Linked DNA regions of Homo sapiens: region 1 is linked to region 2. Evidence: promoter capture Hi-C in 16 types of primary human blood cells and fetal thymus (Javierre and others, 2016). All regions are on one chromosome and are shown on one strand. The core of a region is centred on a gene start or on the middle of the fragment in contact, and the rest is flanking DNA. Distances in the headings are between cores, read along the strand shown.

What was found. Contacts are between HindIII fragments. The CHiCAGO score rates a contact against its expected background, and 5 or more counts as called.
Region 1: a contact is called between a fragment that was not itself captured here and the fragment with the promoter of CABLES2 in region 2, in 1 of 17 cell types (total B cells). The highest score is 5.0, in total B cells.

Annotation. Positions count from the first base shown.
Region 1 is chr20:63,011,638-63,015,209 of GRCh38, forward strand. No RefSeq gene overlaps it. Among named protein-coding and RNA genes, the nearest start is that of BHLHE23, 6.5 kb to the left of the region's middle. RefSeq lists an enhancer at 1,301-1,450. The HindIII fragment of the contact is 240 bases long and covers 1,288-1,527 here.
Region 2 is chr20:62,405,850-62,409,808 of GRCh38, forward strand. It overlaps CABLES2 (Cdk5 and Abl enzyme substrate 2), which reads right to left and starts at 1,436. Exons shown (of 10, transcript NM_031215.3): 1 at 1,066-1,436. The coding sequence starts at 1,427. LOC105372709 (a long non-coding RNA gene) reads right to left here and starts at 1,045. Exons shown (of 2, transcript XR_936967.3): 1 at 1-1,045. RefSeq lists a silencer at 1,353-1,602. The HindIII fragment of the contact is 20,791 bases long and covers 1-3,959 here.

The DNA.
Region 1 (3,572 bases), core at 158-2,657, 610 kb after region 2:
CTCCTTAGTACCCCAACTACAGTTAAACTTCTGGGAATAAACAGCTGGGTCCACTTATCTCAAATTAAACCTGTCTCTTATAAAGCCCCACAGGCCAACGGAACACAAGAGACTGATCCCGTTTATTCCCGTGAGCCAGTCAGTGACCTCTGATTCCTGTTCCTAAGAAATGAGAGGGATGGGGGGCATAAATACCTGGATTGGCATTCTACTTTTAGGCACAAGTTGGAATCATGCAGAGAGTGATTTATTTACTGAGTAGGCACAGACTTTAGCCTGTCTACATAATCACATAAACGGTTGGGTATGTGGAGAATTGCCACTTTCCTCCACCTCTGGGTTGCCCTGGCATAGTCAACTGGCCAGCCTAAGTCTGTGGGGATTTTACGTTCCAGACCATTACCCAGGCTATGAGAGCTTTAGAGCTCACGTCTCTGCCATTGATGAGCTGTCAGTCAGTCCTCTATTGGCTTGGTTCCAACAGCTGCCCAGTTCTTGGAAAGCCTTTCTGTTTAGCTAGTTTACTTGGAATGATTTTATTTATTTTGCTTTGCTATTGTAGAATATATTGCGGTTGTACTCTTTGTGTAGGAATGCATGACAAGCTCACTCAACACTTTCTTCAGTTGGACATTTTTTTGTTTTTTTTTTGTTTTTTTTTGAGACGGAGTCTTTCTCTGTAGCCCAGGCTGGAGTGCAGTGGCATGATCTTGGCTCACTGCAACCTCCACCTTCTGGGTTCAAGTGATTCTCCTGCCTCAGCCTCTTGAGTAGCTGGGATTACAGGCGCACACCACCATGCCTAGCTAATTTTGTATTTTTAGTAGAGACGGGGTTTCTCCATGTTGGTCAGGCTGGTCTTGAACTCCTGACCTCAGATGATCCACCCGCCTCAGCCTTCCAAAGTGCTGGGATTACAGGTGTGAACCACCATGCCCATCCTGTTTTTCCTTCTTAAATGAGACAAGAGGGATAGAGAATGGGGCTGTGTGTTTCCCTTCCCAACATAAAAGACTGGAGGGAGCTGGAGTTGATACTTCCCTTCCTCCAGGTTGGTTAGACTCTGATTAAACTCTGGTACGTTAAAAATAGTTTCTCTTGAGGGCAGAGGAAGAACAGAATGCTCTGGCATATTTCGAAAGTGCTACTTCTCCCCTCCCCTTGTCCAAAGCACAAGGGGATTTTTCTCTGGTATTTACCTGGGGGATCTGGTAGAGTTTGTGCAGGTAAAACTCACAGAAGTGTGGCCTCCACCCTAAGACTGGGCCCTGGAGTTTTTAACTGTCAAGCTTGGCCACACAGCCTCCAGCAATCTGCCAGTGACAGTTTAGGTTTTCCCAACCTGGCAGTGGTTCCCAGGGAGGTGTCTGCTCTGCAGAATTGGGATTCTCTGCATCTGTCTGTCGTCTCTACAACTTTTTTGGGCAGTGGTTTGCCCTGTGACCTCATCATCTGTTGAATATAAGAAATATTATTGACTTTCAGTTTGCTCACGTTTTGTTCTTGTGAAAAGATTGATTGTTTCCAAGCTTCTCACACAGTGGACTAGAAATTGATTCATTTCATTTATCCTTTTTGGGTTTGTGGGGTTCTTGAATTTGTGACTTGATGATTTTGATTACTTTTAGAAATTTCCTGGCTATTAACTCTGGAGTATTGCTTCAACCTCATGTTCTCTCATCTCCTCTCTGGGATCCAGTTACAAATATATTGGTCCTTCTTCCTGAATCCTTTGTGTATCTTAACCTGTCACCTGTATTTTCCATTTGTATTATCCATACTTCATTCTGAATATTTTCTACTGACCTATTTTCCACTTCACTAATTCTCTCTTCAGCTGAATTTGCTATTAAAGCCACTAAGTTTATAATTTAAGTGATTTTATTTTTCAGTGCTAGAATTTTCATTTGGTTTTTCTAGGTTTTTTTTTTTTTTTTTGCTGAAATTCTAAATTCCACCTCTATTTCTGCAAATGCTGTAAGCACAGTTTTGTTCCAGTCTCTGTCTCGCGACTCCAGTGTCTGGACTGGTAGATCTTCTGCCTATGGTCTCTGCTGCTTTCATTCTTGCTGATTTGTTTTTTCAATTGTCTAGAATTTTTATTGTGGACTGAACATTGTATTTGTAAAATTATTTTGTAGAAATCATTTGAGGTCTATTTTATTTTCCTCCAGAGAGGGTTTATGTTTGCATCTGCGAGACATGGGGGCACTAGGGGTCCTGGATCATCTTACTCTAGTTTCAGGGATTGAAATCATTTCAAGATGATTACAGTTTAGGTTTTCCTACCCTGGCAGTGGTGCAAAAGGCCCTGAGTTGCTGCAAGAGCCGGTCTCCTTCTATCCACCCCTATGTCTAGGGTGCGGTTATTTGTTGTCCCAACTCAAAATGGTGGGGGTCGGGGGGATGTTCGCCAACTCCCCACTCTCAGGTGGGCTGAATCTCTCGCTGTCTGGCTCCTCAGTGGGCTGTGAGCTATCTGAAGCAGCAAATGCTTTGGGGGAAAAGTGAGCGTCCCGAAGGCTTTTTTCACTCTGGATCTTTGTCTTTCTGGGATTTTGTTTGTTTGCATTCCAAGCAAATATTTTTAACATTTTGCTCAGCTTTTGTAGTCACCATCAGAAAAGTGATGGGTCCAGATTAACTAGTCCCTAATAACCAGAAACTGGAAGTCTGATGGTTGTTTTCAGTCTTGAACAACATTGATTCTGCGGTGACCAGTTTAGAGTTCATGCAATAGACCTTCCTCCCCCTTGTAAAATCATCACTATTTCAGCTAATACTTAGAGTGACCTCCTGGTGACTCATCCTCAGCCCCCTTTGCCGGTTCTTCTTTTCCCCGACATTTTCATTCTGGAGGGCTTGGGATTCAGTCCTTTGGCCTTTTTCCTAGCTGTGTCTGCCCCCTCGGGGATCTCATCCAATACCCTTCCCACAGCCTACCCAGACCCCAGTGCTGAACTCCAGACTCACGGATTCAGCGGAGCGCAGAATGTCAGATGTGTGAGGGCCGCCTCCGATGCAGCGCGTTCCAGATGGAGCTGCGGCCTCCCCCAGACCCGCCCACCCCCACCCCCAGATTCTGTTGAGGGCAAATCATGCTTCCTCGCAGCTCACACCCTGTTGGTTCTCCCTCCCACGTTCATCTGGAATGCGGCCGCTCCCCACCTCTTCCCGCCTGCCCTCAGTCAGCACAGCAGCCTTCTAATGGCTTCTGCCCTCCCATCATCCCCAGACCCTCCCTTTCACACAGCAGCTGTGAGGTCCTCCTCAGGCAGGGTCAGGTCACGCCTCTCCCTCTCAGAGTCCTGCCTCAGCCCCTCCCCTGTCATCAACAAAGACTAGACTGTGAATGGCCCCATCTGCCTCCTGCCTCCCGAGCTCACAGCCTCTGAGGTCCCGGATGGGAAATCCCACCAGGCAGTCTGTGGACGCCGCACTGCAGGCGAGTGGGGTCTATCTTTTCAAAGCTGATGCCCACGCCCAGAGAGGGTGTCTTCCATGAGAGACGTGGCCTGGCAGCTGCTGCTGTGGGCCCTGGGCCCGGGGACACACCCGGCCCTCATTGAAGA
Region 2 (3,959 bases), core at 186-2,685:
CAAGCAGCCAGTCCTGGGCCCAGAGCCCACAGTCACTCCTGGAGGTGAGGGCTGTGGGAGGCAGGGTCACCCAGGTCCTGTGGTCTCTGGGAGAAGGACACAGGGTGTCGGGCAGCCAGGGGCCATCTGGGCAGGGGGCACACGCTGGACAGGCAGGGCTCATGGTTGGGGTTGCCCTGGGATGGGCTGAGGTGGTTCCCAGAAATGGAATCAAGGCAGGGGGAGCAGTGGAGACCCAGGGTGTGACAGACCCAAAGATACCGAGCTGAGAGTGATGTGGGGAAGGGCGGGGCTCAGCAGGGAAGTGACAGGGAGAGGAGGGGTGCCAGAGACCAGTGGCTGTGGGATGGGAGATGTGGCTGTGCAGGGGCCTCTGGGAACAGGTGTCAGTGACAGTGCCAGGAGGACCCCGGCCCACATGCTGGGTCTGAGGAGGTGGGCATGGACGGTGTGGCCCGGTTCAAAGAATGCGAAGAGATGCACAGGGCTGTCCATGTGTCCCTGTGTCCCGGGCACTGGTACCAGTGGATGGGGGTGGGGGCATGTCCAGAACCCACAGGGCTGGGGGTCTCAGGGGTAATAAGGGCTGAACCCTAAAACCCATTTCAGAGCACTGACAACGTGGAGATCCAGACCCCGTATTCAGGGGCTGGGAGAATTCAGGGGACAATGAACCCTATGTGTGGGGGGTGACAGGGCCTGAGGAAACCCTCAGCCAGCCCAGGAACCCCCAGTTCTGTATCCAGGACTGACAAGGTCCCAGGTGAACCCAACCCCTGTGTCCTGGGCTGATGAGGGCCCAGACTGACCCTGACCCCTGTGTCCTGGGTTGACAGGGGCTCAGGTCACCTGAACCTCTGTCCAGGGCTGACAAGGCCCCAGGTGAACCCAACCCCTTTGTCCTGGCCTCTGTCCAGGGCTGACAAGGCCCCAGGTCACCTGACCCCCTTGTCCTGGGCTGATGAGGCCCCAAGTAATCCTGACCCCTAGTCCTGGGCTGATCCGGCCCCCGTCCCCGTCCCTGTACCCCGCGTCCTGGGCTGACCTGGCCGGGCCCCCACTCACCTCTGGCGCTGCCCATCCAGGCCGAGGCCGGTGGGCACCTGCGTGGGGCTGAGCAGGCCCTGGGGCGCGGGGGTCCTGGCGGGCAGCCCGGTGGGGGGCTCCGGCGGCGGCGGCGCTGGCGGTTCGCGGGCCTCGGCGGGCGGCGGCGGGGGCTTCTCTCCGCCCGGGCCCAGGCTCGGGGGCCGCCCGTCCAGGGAGATGTTGTTGAGGAAGAAAAGCGCGGCCTGGCGGCGCCGCGAGTCCCCGCGCCTCCGCAGCGCCTGCGGCGGGGCCCGAGCGGCCGAGGTCGGCGCGGCGGGTGGCGGGGGCCCGGCGGGGCCGGGGGCCGGGCCCGGGGCTCCACCGGCCGCGGCCGCGGCCATCCTCAGACTGCGCCCGCCGCCGCGAAGCGCCCCACCCCCTGCCCGCGCGCCCGCGCGCCCGCCGCCCATTGGCCGCGGCGCGCCCACATGCAAATGTATCGCCGTCGCGCTCTCCCATTGGCCAGCGAGGTGCCGCGCTCAGGGCGCTCCCCTGGGTCCTAGAGGCGGTCGGACGCAGCAGCAGGGAGTCGGGAGCTGCGCGCCTCCCCGCCGGTTCGAGTCCCCGTCTTGGGACCTGCGGCCGCGGGGCTCTCGCTTTCTGTTCCCTTTGCTGTATGGCGGCCTTCGCGGATGGCCTCCATCGAGCGCACATTTTAAGGCTCCGGACCCAGGGCGGCGTGGGTGAGGCCCCAGCACACTTCCCTGTCCGGAGGTGTGTCTGGGCGGCGCTTCAGCGGGCGCAGGGCGGCCCCTGGAGGAGCCCCACCGCTTCCCGGAAGGGCCCGCGTGCCATCTGGCCTCCTTCATTGACAGAAGGGAACGAGGGTCTGAGTGGAGAAGGCACCTGCTTGGGATCAAAGCCCCAGGCAGAGTCCTGCACTTCCTGCAGTAGCAAAGTGACCTTGAGCCTGCCTTGTGCCCAGGCCTGTTTCCTCTCTGTGCCTGGGTGCCCCTGACTTCAGAACCTGTGAGCCCGTGGCACCGGGATGGTCAGGGCCTGCCTCTGGAGCCCGGGAGCCTGTCTGCAGTCTGGAGGGGAACCCGCTGTATCTTTGTGGAGGGACTCAGGACCTTGCACCCACCTCTGTGTCACCTGCCTGCTCTGTCCAGCTTTCTTTCATGGGTTTACGTATCTTTAAAGAGGGGACAATGATTTCAGCCTCAGGGTACTGTCAGGATGAAACTGGCTCAGTGAGGGGGTCGGGCTGTGGCCGGAGGCCAGGCACATGCAGTGGTCAGTCCGCGAATGCGCTGCAGTACCTCGCACCTGCCCGCATGCGCCCAGCCTCTCCTGTGCTGGGTGCTGGGGACCCGGTGGGACCGACAGGCACAGCGCTGGCCCTAGGAGCACCTGGTGTGTGGGGAGGCAGCATGATGGCCAACAAGGCAGTGGGCGAGTGGGCAAGACAGGGTCTTCATCACCACCCCTAGCATGGGCCCCTGCCCTTCAGGCCCCTACCCACCTCCCGCCTGCCTGCTCCCTCCTGTGGGCCTTCACGGGCCACCATTGGGGCTCACGCAGCATGCAGCACCTCCATTTCCTTTCCCTCCGCCCTTCCAAGTTGGCCTCCAAGGCCTCTGCCAGGCCTAGGGGAAGGTGGGCAGCTGTCCTGTCTAGGAGAACGCGGGGCTGGGTGGCATAGCAGAGGGGTGGCTGCGGATTCTGGATCCACAGAATGGGGTGCTGACTTGTGTGCCTGGGGGCTCCCGTGAGCGGGGAGTGAGTGTGTCCAGCGCTGTAGGGTGCTGAGGCTGGGGCAGGCACACAGTGGGCCCTCCATCCCTGCTGGCTATCACCAGGAGGAGGGGCCTGACAGGGGAGGGTGGGCCATACACCAGCAGCTTGCAGAGAATCTGGTGTCAGATGAGAACAGAAAGGGGCGAGTGAGGGTGGAGGGCAGGACGCAGGAGGCAGGAGGCAGCTGTCCGTGCTGGCTGCAGCGCCGGGTCCTGGGGATCGGCTGTGCAGTAGGGGGGCCCCTAGCCAGTTCTTCTTTGCTGGCGCTAAGCTAGACTTTGAGGGACAAGGAGGAATGCTGAGGAAGGAACGGGGTCTCTTCCTGGGTCTGGTGAACCCCCTTGCTAGGCTCCCGCTGCCAGTCTTCTCCCCTCCCCAGGGTGTCGATGGGTGGCCAAAAGCCAACCTGGCCTGCGGGCAGTGTGTAGGGAACACACGGCTTTTGTTTCGTGTGATTCTGGAGAAATTAAAGCAACCTTTAACACACCTGGACTTCCCTCTTGGGAGTTCAGTCCCTCTGGCCTCTCAGGACAACAGGCAGACATGTCACAGGCTGCAGGTGGGAGGCAGTGCCCCCTGAGTCAGGCCCGCACCCCAGTCTGGCCCAGGCCTCACCCAGCCCAGTCGTTGGCCCGTGTCCTGCCATCCCTGTGATGCGTGGTTTTAAATGCCCAGCTCACCTTGGTGCTTTGGCTGCAGAGGGCCCTGCTCATGAGTTTCGCTCCTTATTTTCTTTGGCTCTCACCCTGAACTCTGAGCAGGTGTCAAGCGCAGGGCTCTGTCTGGATGCTCCTGACTGCAGGCCTGGCCCTTGGGCTGACTTCTTAGTTTCCCCCTTGCCCTGGCACCCCTCCGTGGCCCCCACCTTTCCTTTCTGCCTGATCCTTGTCCATTTTTCTAGAGTTGGGGTCTCAGCAAACTTCCCAGAACATCCTAGCTCCTTGCCTACTTGGCACACTCCTGTTCATCCCTCAGAACCCAAATTTGGGTTGCAGGTGCCACCTGCCTTGACCTCCCAGGGACACCTGCTCTCCTCCCCGTCCCCCAACACTGGCCATGACTTGGTGCCATTGCTCCTTTGCCCACCGCTCCCTGATGCCCAGCAGAGGTGTCAGTGCCCAGTGTCTCTGCCC